Linked DNA regions of Homo sapiens: regions 1 and 2 are each linked to region 3. The links are contacts of gene promoters, found by promoter capture Hi-C in human tissues and cell types (Jung and others, 2019). All regions are on one chromosome and are shown on one strand. Each heading gives the region's core, a stretch centred on a gene start or on the middle of the fragment in contact. The rest is flanking DNA. Distances are from core to core; before and after follow the strand shown.

What was found. Contacts are between HindIII fragments. The study calls those that stand out against the background at their distance.
Region 1: the fragment with the promoter of C10orf95 here is called in contact with a fragment that was not itself captured in region 3 in 1 of the 25 tissues and cell types used here (dorsolateral prefrontal cortex).
Region 2: a contact is called between the fragment with the promoter of FBXW4 here and a fragment that was not itself captured in region 3, in 1 of the 25 tissues and cell types used here (liver).

The regions. Positions count from the first base shown.
Region 1 is chr10:102,449,634-102,453,960 of GRCh38, reverse strand. C10orf95 (chromosome 10 open reading frame 95) reads left to right here and starts at 2,418. Exons shown (of 2, transcript NM_001363580.1): 1 at 2,418-2,575; 2 at 2,814-4,124. The coding sequence starts at 2,868. The coding sequence ends at 3,509. It overlaps C10orf95-AS1 (C10orf95 antisense RNA 1), which reads right to left and starts at 4,144. Exons shown (of 3, transcript NR_038938.1): 1 at 3,939-4,144; 2 at 3,631-3,774. RefSeq lists an enhancer at 1,769-2,451 and silencers at 2,974-3,463, 3,504-3,583. The HindIII fragment of the contact is 10,367 bases long and covers 1-4,084 here.
Region 2 is chr10:101,693,475-101,698,051 of GRCh38, reverse strand. FBXW4 (F-box and WD repeat domain containing 4) reads left to right here and starts at 2,882. Exons shown (of 9, transcript NM_022039.4): 1 at 2,882-3,671. The coding sequence starts at 2,947. RefSeq lists silencers at 2,713-2,992, 3,023-3,072, 3,353-3,812 and an enhancer at 4,123-4,202. The HindIII fragment of the contact is 7,927 bases long and covers 1-4,577 here.
Region 3 is chr10:102,158,582-102,163,304 of GRCh38, reverse strand. It overlaps NOLC1 (nucleolar and coiled-body phosphoprotein 1), which reads right to left. Exons shown (of 13, transcript NM_004741.5): 6 at 3,997-4,112; 7 at 3,737-3,872; 8 at 3,281-3,409; 9 at 2,962-3,072; 10 at 2,212-2,853; 11 at 1,643-1,749; 12 at 1,380-1,472; 13 at 1-1,194. The coding sequence ends at 1,036. Among named protein-coding and RNA genes, the nearest start is that of NOLC1, 8.6 kb to the right of the region's middle. The HindIII fragment of the contact is 5,920 bases long and covers 1-4,390 here.

The DNA.
Region 1 (4,327 bases), core at 1,169-3,668, 290 kb before region 3:
AGGCGGAGGTTGCAGTGAGCCAAGATCCCCGCCATTGCACTCCAGCCTGGACAAAAAGAGCAAAACTCCGTCTCAAAAAAAAAAAATTGCAGGAATGAATGCCTTGAAGGACGTTGTGACCAGCTGCTGATGCCCAGAAGTCTGGTGGCTCAAGGGGTTATCTGAGACTGAAGAAACACAGACTTTTACCCTGGGTTCCCTGAAATGCCCCCTCCGTCACTCCTTAGTCACATTAAAAACTCCCTGCTGCTTTTTGAGACAGGCTCTCAGTCTGCCACCCAGGCTGTAGTGCAGTGGTATGAACACAGCTCACTGCAGGCTTGACCTCCTGGGCTCAAGTGATCATTCTGCCTCAGCGCCCCAAGTAACTGGAACTACAGGCACATGCCACCATGCCTGGTTTTTTTTTTTTTTTTTTTTTGTAGAGCCGGTGTTTCACCATGTTGCCCAGGCTGATCTCGAACTCCTGAGCTCAAGCAGTCCACCTGCCTCAGCCTCCAAAAGTGCTAGGATTACAGGTGTAAGCCACCCTGCTGCTTTTTTTCTGTTAATAGGGATTTGAGAGATTTGCTCTCCCGCCTTCTCACTTTGGCCAAATCAAATAAACCTTTCTCTATCTCCCACTGTTTGGCCTTAGCTGTGCATCAGGTTCACCAGCCTGAATCTGGGTTTCTATGACAGTGTTAGAGTCCAAATGAAACCCTAACCAGGCCCCTTTTTTCCATCCACAGCCCAGCCCCAGCACCTGCCTTCAAAAGGACTGGCCCGAATTAAGACTTGGAGCAGTGGCTCAGTCACGAATAGCATGACATCACCAGGGTGAGTCACCAAATGGTGGCCACCACCAGAGGGTAGCTGAGTTTTGAGGGATACTGAGAACCCAGAAGAACCTTTCTGTCAGGGCTGCTGGTGATACTGCTTCAGTCAACAGGAGATGGGGAAGGAAAGTGTGGCAACATGGCAGCCCTGCAGCTGGGAGACGGTTTCAGTTTTAATCATCCATAACTACCACTCTCCCCACTGGAGAAGGAAGAGGTGCAGGGGTTGTGACCCACACCAGAAGGGACTGGAACTCAGACAGGGCTCACCCCATCTGGATGAAGCAATCTTCCTGCCTTCACTCAAATGGCTTCTGGCCTTTGACATCAGTTGGACTGGGTTCAAATTCCACTGTGGTACTTACAGGCTGTGTGAACCTGGGACAGTGGCCTAACTTCTCTGAGCCTCTGGTTCCTTATCTACTAAAAGAGCATGACATCACTATGCACTTCACATAGCTATTAAGAATTTAAAGTAGGCCGGGCGCAGTAGCTCATCCTTGTAATCCCAAAACTTTGGGAGGCCAAGGTGGGCGGATCACGGGGTTGGGAGTTCAAGACCAGTCTGGCCAATATGGTGAAACGCCATTTCTACTAAAAAATACAAAAATTAGCCAGGTGTGGTGGGGCACGCCTGTAGTCCCACCTACTTGGGAGGCTGAGGCAGAAGAATCGCTTGAAGCTGGGAGGCAGAGGTTGCAGTAAGCCAAGATCGTGCCACCGCACTCCAGCCTGGGCGACAGAGCAAGATTCTGTCTCAAAAAAAAAAAAAAAAAAAAGGAAGAAAAGAATTTAAAGCAGCCGGGCGCGATGGCTCACGCCTGTAAAATCAGCACTTTGGGAAGCCAAGGAGGGTGGATCACCTGAGGTCAGGAGTTCGGGACCAGCCTGGCCAACATAGTGAAAACCCCGTCTCTACTAAAACTACAAAAATTAGCAGGAGGTGGTGGTGCACCTGTAATCCCAGCTCCTCGGGAGGCTGAGGTGGGAGAATCGCTTGAACCTGGAAGACGGTGGCTGCAGTGTGCCGAGATCATGCCGCTGCACTCCAGCCTAGACAACAGAGCAAGACCCCATCTCAAAAAAAAAAAAAAAAAAATTAAAGCGCTTATGTAACATTCTAGAGTGGGAGGACTTCGAGACAGTCTGCGAGAAGCTCCTGCACAGGTGGGCAATAAGACCAACATTGTGAGCCTGAGTCTTGAGACAGACTGGGGGTTGAATTTTGCCCTTACTATAGCCAGCTGTGTGAGTTGGGATGAGTTATTTAACCTACATAAGCTCCAGTCACTGAATACACTGGACACCAACTGTGAGGCAAGCAGCTTTTTGCTATGGAAAGCAGGGGTAATATCAGTACCCCCCTTCCTCGGATCGACATAACTTGCAGTTAGATGCTCCCAGACAACTCGATTCAGTGTCTGGTGTGCAGGAGTTTCACTCAAATGTGAGGATAACCCAATCCACCTGCAGGCGCTGGGAGGCTGGGGTGTAGTGACTGGGAGCTAACCGGATTAGACAGCCATCAGTAATACTGTAGGAAGGGCATCCTTGTAGGGTGGGGCCACTACGACCAGTACGGCTCACCCAGGTGTAGACAGACGCTGGTAGCTCCTGGCCAGCTCAAGGTGTTTCCTTTTGCCTGGTAACCAGGAGGAGTGGCTGAGGCAGGGCATGGAGCGGAGCAACGCAGCTACAAAGTGCGGAGAGGAGCCCCGCTCTGGATCCCGCCGGCTCCCCAAGGCTGAAGGAGACAAGTGAGTGGGGAGTCACTGGGAAGAGCATCCCGGCGGAGGGCTTGAAAAGGCTCCTTATTGTCTGCTGGGAGCCTGAGGCTCTGCCCGACCTTGGGACAAGAGGCTAGGCGGGGAGCTGAATGTTCGATTTGGGATGAATTCCCCCAAAGCCATGAACCGGCGTCCCGGGGAACCGGCCCACAGGGACAGGAGGCGGTTAAGTAGAAAGTCTGTCTACATATCCCTTCCTCCGCCGCAGGTCTGGATCCGCAGGAGCCCCCAGTAAGAACAGCAGCCGCCTGGGGGGCCGACCATGTATGTGTACAGCTGGCCGCCGCCCAAACAGGGCGTCTGGCCGCCGCCGCCGCAGCTGCTCACCTGCACCTACCTGGCCGCCCCTCTGCTGCTACCCCCAGTCCAGGCCCACAGCTTCCGCAGCCGGCCCGGGAGCCTGCATGCGGGCGAGTGGGCGGCCCCACGGGAATACCACCGCTTCTACGGCCCCGCCGCGCCACCCGAGGCCGCGCCGCCCTGGTGGGCCTGCCCTCCGGCCTACGCCACGACCCTGCGCCGGCCCTGCGCCGCCGCCGGCATCTCGGGACTGTCGCTGCAGGCGCCCGCGGCGGTGGCCGAGAGCTGGGCGCCGTGGCCGGAGGGCGGGAGCCTGCAAACCGAGCTGCGCTGGGGCCGCGTGGAGCGCGCGCGGGGCCCCCCTCTGCAGCTACCGGACTTCGTGCGCCGGGAGCTGCGGCGCGCGTACGGCACCTACCCCCGCGCCGACGTGCGCGTCACCCAGCGCCGCGGCCAGTTCCTGCTGCAGGCGACGCCGCGCGTGCTCGAGCCCGACCACCGCGTGGAGTGGCGCGTGCGGCGCCGGCCCGACAGCGGCGACAGCAGCCCAGCCCGGGAAGCCGCGGAGCGCGGCCGCCCCAGGAAGAGCAAGGGCCTGAGCTGAAGCCGCCGCAAGGCCTAGGGGCGGGCCCGCGTGCACGCGCTTGGCTCTTTCCTGTGTGTGCCGCCGCCGACAGGCAGAAGTGAGCCCTCACCTGTGCGCGGGAGGCGGACGCGCTGCTCACCTGTCTTTTTGGCTTCTCCCATGACTGCCGGCCAGTTTCCTGCACTTGTTTCTCTCGCTTTATTGCTGGACGGTGGGAGAAGGGCAAGTGCAAGACGGAATCGAGGGCACCTCTGGGTGTTCTGTACCTCTTTTCTTCTTGCACCTTGGGAAGTGGAGGACGTGGGATGGAAGAAGGGCCTGGACCTCCCTCCTTCCTCCTCCCCACCTTCTCCTAAGGAGCTTGCCCTGCAGTAAGCCCCAACTTTCCCTTCCTCTTTTCCCTCTATCAGAGTCGTCGCCCACCCCCCTTTCCCACCGCTCCCCTACCCCCGCCTTCCTGCCAAGCCGAGGGCGACGGTGATCCCCAGCTTAGTAAGAAAAGTAAATAGGCCGGGCGCGGTAGCTCACGCCTGGAATCCCAGCACTGTGGGAGGCCGAGGCGGGCGGATCGCTTGAGCCCAGGAGACCAGGTTGGAGACCAGCCTAGGCAACATGGCGAAACCCTGTCTCTACAAAAAAAAAAAAAAAAAAAAATAGCCGGGTGTGCTGATACACTACTGTAGTCCCACCTACTCGGGAGGCGGAGATGGGAGGATCACCTGAGCCCGAGAGGGCGGGGCTGCAAGGAGCCGCGAACGCACCACTGCACTCCAGCCTGGGTGACTGAAACCCTGTCTCAAAAACAAAAACAAACAAAAAAAAAAACAATAAATAAA
Region 2 (4,577 bases), core at 1,633-4,132, 470 kb after region 3:
TTTTTTTTTTTTCTCTCACCCAGGCTGGAGTGCAGTAGCGCGATCTCGGTTCACTGCAAGCTCCGCCTCCCGAGTTCAAGCAATTCTCCTTCCTCAGCCTTCCCAGTAGCTGGCGCCTGTCGCCACGCCCGGCTAATTTTTTTGTATTTTTTAGTAGAGACGGGTTTTCACAGTGTTGTCCAGGCTGGTTTTGAACTCCTGAGCTCAGGCAATCTGCCCGCCTCGGCCTCCCAAAGTGCTAGGATTACAGGCGTGAGCCACCGCGCCCGGCCGCTTTAATGATGCGCCCGGCCGCTTTAATGATGACCGCTAAATGATGCTTTAATTTCTCCATTAATGAGGGCCGGGGGCAGTGGCTCACTCCTGTAATCCCAGCACTTTGGGAGGCTGAGGCGGGCGGATCACGAGGTCAGGAGATCGAGACCATCCTGGCTAACATGGTGAAACCCCGTCTCTACTAAAAATACAAAAAATTAGCTGGGCGTGGTGGCGGGTGCCTGTAGTCCCAGCTACTCGGGAGGCTGAGGCAGGAGAATGGCGTGAACCCGGAAGGCGGAGCTTGCAGTGAGCCGAGATCGCGCCACTGCACTCCAGCCTGGGCAACAGAGTGAGACTTCGTCTCAAAAAAAAAAAAAAAAGAAAAAGGCCGGGCAAGGTGGCTCATGCCTGTAATCCCAGCACTTTGGGAGGCCGAGACAGGCGGATCACGAGGTCAGGAGATCGAGGCCATCCTGGCTAACACTGTGAAACCCCGTCTCTACTAAAAATACAAAACAATTAGCCGGGCATAGTGGCGGGCGCCTGTAGTCCCAGCTACTCGGGAGGCTGAGGCAGGAGAATGGCGTGAACCCGGGTGGTGGAGCTTGCAGTGAGCCGAGATTGCGCCACTGCACTCCAGCCTGGGCGACAGAGCCAGACTCTGTCTCAAAAAAAAATTCTCCATTAATGAAAATAAAGTAAATTACACTTGCATGATTATGGATTTTAATCCTGATTTATGTTGGGTTAAAGAAGTTTTAGTGCCTCCACTAAAAATGAGATAGAATATAGATGAACTACTCAGCTTTACTATGTATCCTGAATGAGTTAAGTACTCAAACAGTAAGAAATTACAAACATCTCTAACACAAATCTAAACACAAAATGCAGGAACCATATTCCTGCTATATCATTTGTCTTCCTTCTTGATTCGCTCATAGTACACAAATGTAGCAAAATCAATAAATATTGAACTCATGACATCACCTAAATGTGAAGTATTCCTGCCTTAGTAGTCTTCTAACAGTATGGTACCTGTGAATAAGTAAATTTCTTTATAATGATCTCTAAAACATGGCTTAAATTCTTTGGCCGCATTGAAATCTATAAAATAGTGCTTTCAATAAACCACTGCCTTGAGTTTGGAAATCGTTTTCTACACAAAGTCTTTGTTGCATTTGGAGAGGGGGAGGGATGGCATTTTTTTGTAACAGGATTTGACCTGTAACTATTATTAAGAATTTTCTTAGAGGAGTTCAAAGCATTTTACAGGGATCATCTCATTTATCCCTCGAAAGTAAGGCAGAGGCATTATCTCCACTACAGATTGAGAACACTAAAAGGCCAAGATAGGTGGGGCTTTTTGTTGTTGTTTTGCTAAGATCAAAAAGTAATTCTAGGGCAAAGCCAGATTCCGGTCTGACCTTGTTACATGATGCTTCTTGCAGCACCATAATACAATGTAGTTGCTTCCCTAGGTTTCTCTTTGGCTATGCTAGGTGTTGAATAATTTTCAGGGTCAATTTTTATTCTTCCCTGCTCCCTGAAAATGAGTGTTAAGATGTAGATAAGTACAAAAGAAAACTCTCCAATCCTTCCTACCTGGATTTGGAGTACAGGATAAACAGACAGAAATTGGCATCTTCCTCCCCTCCTCCAAGTTTTACTGCCTAGCCCAATGCTAATAGAAAAATAACCCGAGCCACAAATGCAAGTCCCATGTATAATTTTAAATTTTCTAGTAGTTACATTAAAATATATTGTATTTAGCCCAATACAGCGTATCCAAAATATTAACACTTCAACACGTAATCAATATAAAATTATTAATGAGATATTTTGCATTCTTTTTTTTGTATGGCTTCAAAATCTGGTGTGCATTTCTCACTTATAGCTCATTTCAATTTGTATTAGCCACATTTCAAATGCTCAGCAGCCACATGTGACGAGGGAGGACACTGTTGGACAGCACAGGTCTAGACCTCAGTAGCTCTCCCTTCAGATTAATGCCATGTGAATCGAATGGGTGGTATGAAGAATGGATGCTGAGTCCTTGGAGAATCCACTTGCACTTGGGTGGTGACTGATAAGAAGCCCTAGCTGTGCCATTTCCTGATACATGACTGTTTTTGAAGTTATGGACTCAGGATCTAGAAGACTGCAAATCCCCAAATACGTCTAACACCCAAGCTCACGCCAGGACCGTGCTTCCGGGCCTGTGTGAGAACCTAAGCTATGGAACCTGTCAACTTCTAGGGCTGCAGATTCGTTGGGCCCTCACATGTGGCCCGTGGAAAGGAGGCATCACTCGAGGAAGAGGAGGGCTTCTAGAGGGGCAAGGCCACCCAACTAGGGGCTTCTTGAGGGCAGGTGCTCCAAATGGCCGCTTCCTGAGGGCAGCGGGTCCTCTTGTGGCCTCAGGCAGGGCCCTGAAACCGGCCTCACGTGTTTGCAGCGCGAACTCCTGTGCTTCCACCAAGCGCTCTCGGGGATGCGGGGGTGGTGTCAGCGCCCCGGCCCCAGCCCGCACCCCGAAGTGGCTCCAAGGCTGCAGGTGTGAGGGGCGTGCCCAGGGCTCGGCCCGCGCCGCCCCATGTGACCCGGTCCGACATGGTGTCGCCTCCTCCCGGGGCGGCGGCGGTGGCGGCTCGGGCTGGGCTCCGCGTCGGGCCGGCCCCGCGGCCGCTCATGGGCAGCCAGGGCCGCTCGGGGCCCCCCGGGAACGGCGGGCCCGGCGAGGGCGAGGGCGGAGAGGCGAGGAAGCTGCAGGAAGGGAGGGTGGCGAGGGGGAAGCGAAGGAAGGGGAAGGGGAAGGGAAAAGCGAGAGCGGGGCAAGGCGGAAGAGGAAGCGGGGCGGAAGGGAAGCCCGGGCCGCAGACGGCGAAGGAGGCAGCCGGGCCGGGGGCTGACGCGGGAGCGAGGGCATGCCCAAGGGAGGAAGCAGAGGGAGGCAGAAGCGTGGAGGAAGGGGCGAGAGGCATCGTCAAGGGAGTCGAGGGGAGCGCAGGGGCCGGGAAGGAGGCACAAGGAAGAGAGTATGGGAAGAAGGAGGAATGGAGGGTCAGGGCTAGGCGGCGGGAGGGCGCCAGGCCGGGAAGAGCACAGGGACGAGGGGGTCAGGCTTGGGCCGACATCGCGGGGACAGGGGTGGCCATGGCGGCGGCGGCCGGGGAGGAGGAGGAGGAGGAGGAGGCGGCTCGGGAGTCGGCTGCCCGCCCGGCCGCGGGGCCTGCGCTCTGGCGCCTGCCGGAGGAGCTGCTGCTGCTCATCTGCTCCTACCTGGACATGCGGGCCCTCGGCCGCCTGGCCCAGGTGTGCCGCTGGCTGCGGCGCTTCACCAGCTGCGATCTGCTCTGGCGCCGGATAGCCCGGGCCTCGCTCAACTCCGGCTTCACGCGGCTCGGCACCGACCTGTAAGCGTCCGCTCGCCCGCCCGCTCCCCGCCCCGAGCCGGCCCCGCGTCCCGGGAAAGGGCGGGGCGCCGCGGCCTGGTCGGCCCAGGGTCGTGTCGCACCCCGAGTTTCTAGGCCTACACCTGACCTCCGCCTACACCCTTTCCCGAGCACTCTCGGGGACCCCTTTGCCCCTCCTCCCCAAGGCCTCCATCTGAGGCAGCCTCCCGAGAGCATCCCTCAGTAGGCACCCTCCCGGGTGGGCCGCTCCTCACAATTAGCCATCTTAGGCACTCCCTACAGCTTTCGATTGTGTGTTTTTGCAGAGGTTTAGCTGCCCCGGTTCCTTCGCCCCAGAGGAGCCAGTCTGGTACGGTGCTTTGGACGATTCCTTGAGTCCAGGTCTAGGACTCAGGTTCCTTAAGTGGTCTATCATAAATTTTTGTGGACTTTCATCTTTCATCCTCCCTACCCTTTTCTAAAGGTTGTTAAGCTTCAGGGCTCGGACCTTAAGAGAAGCCCTCGGTCCCAGTGTTCAGCCATAGTTTATGACTTCATATAGGCAGAGCGACACGAAAAAGGGGGCCTGCTTGAGGCAGGAGGCTGGAGTCTGTCCAGGATGTGTACAAGACATGGTATTGCAATTTGGCCTGTTTTTGGTAGGGTCTGAGACCTGTGAATGAAAAACTTTTCTGAACCACTTAAACTGTTAAATAGGAAGGAAAAAACATGTAGGGAATTGGGGGAATAAGAGCTTTCAGATTGCCCCCTATTCCACCCATTTTTTAAAAAGTAGTTCTTTCTAGTACATTATGACAACATTAAATAACGTTTTTAAAAACATAAAAAGCCATAATACCATCACCTCTAGACAATTATTTTCATTTAAAAACCTTTTCAGTTGCACATATAATTGCTATCTTACTG
Region 3 (4,723 bases), core at 181-2,680:
TAATGTAATCTACCTTCCTACTGAGGATTGAGGTTTTAACGTTTGTTTTTTTTCCCCCCACTTTCTTGATCAGTGATTCTCAACCATGTAGGAATTAATGAAACCAATTCTGTATCACCACTGCAACCAAGACAGCAATACCAAGTGATATGTATTTTTCAAACTCATGTCATTTTGTTCTCTATACTGTAAAAAACGAGAAGATGCAGTCCTCAACTTAGAACTCAATACTAGGAAGGGTCAAGTTGTCAAAAAATGTCTTTCAACAGTAGAAAAGTTTGCTTTCAAATTAAAAAACAAAGCACGTATTGCAAACATCGTGTAATGATAAAATTACAGAAAAAAATATATTCAGAATGACCCATGGCATTCACGCCATACCAGAATTTTGCCTGTAACAAAACAGAGAATTTTATCCCAAAAAGTAGGTTAGGTCCATGCTGGCTAAAAACTTCAGTCCCAGACCCAATAAATGAGGATGAAATACATAGTGCATGCTTAACAGACATTGCATATACATCAACAATTCTTTAATGCCCCTCTCTAGGGTTTTGAGGGAAGGAGGGATGAAATGTGGACATGTGCACTCACAAAGGCAGAATTTTCTTCCTATTATAAAAAGTCACACGTGACCCTTTACTATGTTTTGGGCAATAGCCAAGATTTTATCTGTGGGAATCCACCTTTGAAAATCACAACAAAAATCAATAGTAAGTGATTTAATATAAAATATACAAATTTCTCAGTATGAGGACTTTCACAGAAAAGGAAGGAGACAACAATGAAAATGAATTTTCTTAAAAAATAACATTCCCTTATTTTGTCCCTGCTACTCAACACTCAAAAACAAGTCTGTACAAAACTAGGAACACAGAAAAGGACCAGAGAGGATGTTACACTGTAAAGTCTTAGGACCTACTCTAAACTTCTGTCCTCATCAAGACCCTCACCTAGAGACCTGAGGGTTCCCAGGTCCACTGGAGAAAGTAAGTAGTCTCCGATCATCACCCTTGCTTCACCGAAGATGGCCTCAGGTCACTCGCTGTCAAACTTAATAGAATTGACCTGGACAGAGATTGAGCCTCCCCGGTAGCTGCCCCGCTTCTTCTTGGTTTTCTCATGCCGAAAGGACTTGCCTTTGGTGAACTTCAAAACCTGATTGGCTCGCTCTCCCCAGTCTCCGGCTGCACCTCGCTGGTAAGTAGAGAGGGAGATTAACACAGAGGAGGACCATGCTGGAGCCCTGTCACTTTATTCTTTCTACTCCCTGCTCAAGGAAACCTGAACCCAGAGAAGATTCCCACCAACCTGAACCAAGAATTGTCCTCTCTGACACTACCCATCCTCCCTCCCAAGAATGGCACAGATCTCTCTCTCACCTTGGCATCAAAGGAGTTGTCCGCAACTCGTGAATCCACCTCAATTTCCTCCTCCCTGACCCTTCGGAATGGGGATGATGCCCTTTTTTCTCCCTACAGAAGAATGAAGTAGGAAATTAAAGACAGAGTGGTCATGTAACAGTTCTCCTGAGTGATACACATGGGCACATGTACCAGGTCACGCCAGGCAGAGCTGTCAAGATGATCCTAGATTTTTCTACTTTTAAAGAGCTGGCTCCTGAGAAGAAAGTGAGACAACTTACTTTCTTCCTTTTTGGAAATGTGTTAGGGGTCTGAAGCTTTATCTTCTTGGCCTGAGGAGTCTCTGCCTCCTTGGCAGCCTCATTCTGCTTCCGCTTCTTTAATGAACCTACAAAACAAAAAGCCAGACTCAGGCCGAGTACAGTGGCTCACAACTGTAACCCCAGCATTTTGGGAGTCCAAGGTAGGAGGATCGCTTGAGCCCAGGAAATTCAGATCAGCCTGGGCAATATAGTGAGATTCTGTCTCTATAAAAAGTTAAAAAAATGAGCCAGACATGGTGGTGCATGCTTGTAGTCCCGGCTACTCAGGAGGCTGGGGTGGAAAGATCACCTGAGTCCATGAGGTTAAGGCTGCACAAGCCGTGATCATGCCATTGCACCCTGGTCTGGGTGACACAGTGAGACTCTAATAAAAAAAAAAAAAGGTAACCAGTTTCCTGTTCTTCCTCCCAGTTTCCACAACTGGAAGCCCAGTGGTGGGCCTCCTCTCACTACCCTACTCTCAAAGAGTATATCCCATCCTGATTTGGGGGGACAAAACCCAGAGGGCATGTTCATTGGGTACAGACCTGATTTGGAAACTACCACTGCCGCCTTTTTCTTTTCTTCTTCCTCCTCCTCACTGTTCTTAGCTGCTTTTCCATTCTGGGCAGTCAGTGCAGAGGTGCCATTGGCCTTGGGGGCTTGTGGTCTTGGAGAGCCCTTGCCCTTGAGCTTCTCTTCCTCTTCCTCACTGGAGTCATCAGAAGAAGAACTGTTGCTGCTCTCAGCCTTTCCTTTCTTTGCAGAGGCTGGCTTGGAAGGGGCTGCACCTCCTGCTACCTTCTGTGGCTTCTTCTTAACTGCAGACTTAGATGTCTTCTCTTCCTCCTCCTCACTGCTGGAGCTGTCTGAATCAGAGCTGCTGTCCCTACTACCCTGAGGAGCCTGCTTGGCAGGCAGAGATAGAGCTGCTTTGGCAGTCGCCTTGGGCTTAGTGGTGGCCACCATCTTCTTTGTCTTCTCCTCCTCACTGGAGCTGCTCTCTTCCTCACTGGAGCTGCTGTCAGCCTTTCTCGTCAGAAGCTTCTGGCCACCGCCCACAGGTTGCTTGGGGGCTGCAGCTGGCTTCACTGCAGGTGACTTGGTGGTGACAGCTGGCTTATTTGAAGAATTCTTGGTGGTACCAGCTGGCTTAGAAGGAGCTTCATCATCCTCAGAGCTGTCAGAGTCTAGACACAGAAGGGATGGAATCAACAGCTCCCCAAATTGGATTCAGGGGAGCCCTTAGCAGCTGCCTGAGAGCATCTCACTGAACTGAGGGCCTCCATATGCCTTACCTGAGCTGTCTGAAGAGCTCTCTGCTGCTTTCTTTGCTGGAGGTGGTTTAGTGGTTGCTTTAGAGACTACTGCCTTAGTTGGGGGTTTCTTCTCTTCTTCAGAACTTGAATCTGAGGAGAACCTGTAGCATTATGCTGGGTCCAGAGTCCCAACCCAACCAGGACAGCAATAAAAAGAATGCAAAGACACGCACAGAGCCTTAGCTCTGTCTTGCTTTAAGCAAAAAGCAACCGAAGGATGGAAGGCTTTCTCTCTCCCTTATTCCTCATCCCCTCCTCCAGACCCACGCTGAGGGGAGGCTGCATCCCTCTGACTCACCAGACTCATCACTGCTGTCTTCACTGCTTTCCACAGGCTGCTGCTTCTCCACAGCCTTCTTGGGAGGCTGGGTTCCCAGAGACTTCTTTGGTGGGGGAGCAGAAGGCGGGGGGACTGAACTGTAGGGACCTGTTTAAAAAGGATAGTGTGATGGTTTTAGGATATGTCTACAACTTTTTTTGATACTACTTTCTTGTAGAAATGAAGCTTAATTCCCCTTCACTTGAGTATGGGCCAGAATCAATGACTCAGTTCTAACAGAACATGGTGTCACCTCTGAGTCTAGGTTACACAAGGCACTGGAGATTTCTCCTTGCTTTCCTGGATCACTAGTGCTCGGAGAAGCTAGCTGTCATGTCATGAGGACGCTCATGCACCTCTATGGAGAGGTCCATGTGGTTACTGCAGCTGGGCCCTGACCACAGTCACACAGCTTCGCTCCCCATGTCCAGTCACCTGGTTTATTTTTCATGGGTTTTTTTTGCTCCTCTTCCTCGTCACTGGAGGAATCCTCACTGCTAGAACTCTTCCGGGTAGGGGTGGTAGCTGCTTTCACTGGGGCCTTGGCCACAACTTGCTTTTTAGGTACAGTCTGCATTAGAAAGAAAATTGATTACCACAGGAAAATGCTGACCCAACCAATCCTGCCAGGGAAGGAAGACACACACACATCACACCCTGGTCACCTCTGCCCTGACAGAAGTTATGGTCCAGACCTTCTTGGGGGTGGCTGCTGCCTTCTCCTCCTCTGAGTCATCACTGCTACTGCTGCTGCTGCTGCTACTGCTGCTACTGGCTGCTTTACCATTGGCTATTTTAGGTGCTGCTCGAGCTGGAATACCCAAGAAAAAGAAAGAGTAAGGAGTATTAGGGCAAGTCAGGACCATGAAAAACCTCCTTCCTATGAGCAGAGAACTTAGGAGTCCACCATTTTTTTTTTTTTTTTTTTTTTTTTTTTTGGAGACGGAGTCTGGCTCTGGCTCTGTTGCACAGGCTAGTGTGCAGTGGTTCAGGCAACTCTCCCGCCTCAGCCTCTGGAGTAGCTGGGATTACAGGTGCCCACCACCATGCCCAGCTAATTTTTATATTTTTAGTAGACACAGGGTTTCGCCATGTTGGCCAGGCTGGTCTTGAACTCCTGACCTCAAGCAATCCGCCCGCCTCAGCCTCCCAAAGTGCTGGGATTATAGGTGTGAGCCACTGTGCCTGGCCAGGAGTCCACCAATTCTTTCAACTTTAGAGCAGCCATCGAGGAGAATGCCAGCCATGGTTTACCACATCAAAGGATACCTTTCCTATCCCATGGCAGGAATAAAACTGTCTTCTTAGAAAAGATGACATAAATAATCTCAATACGCCCTCTAAAATCTTTCACTTCAACCTCCATTCAGAGAAATAACCTAACCCTCATCACAAGTTACAGAAAAAAAGAAAAATTCTCAT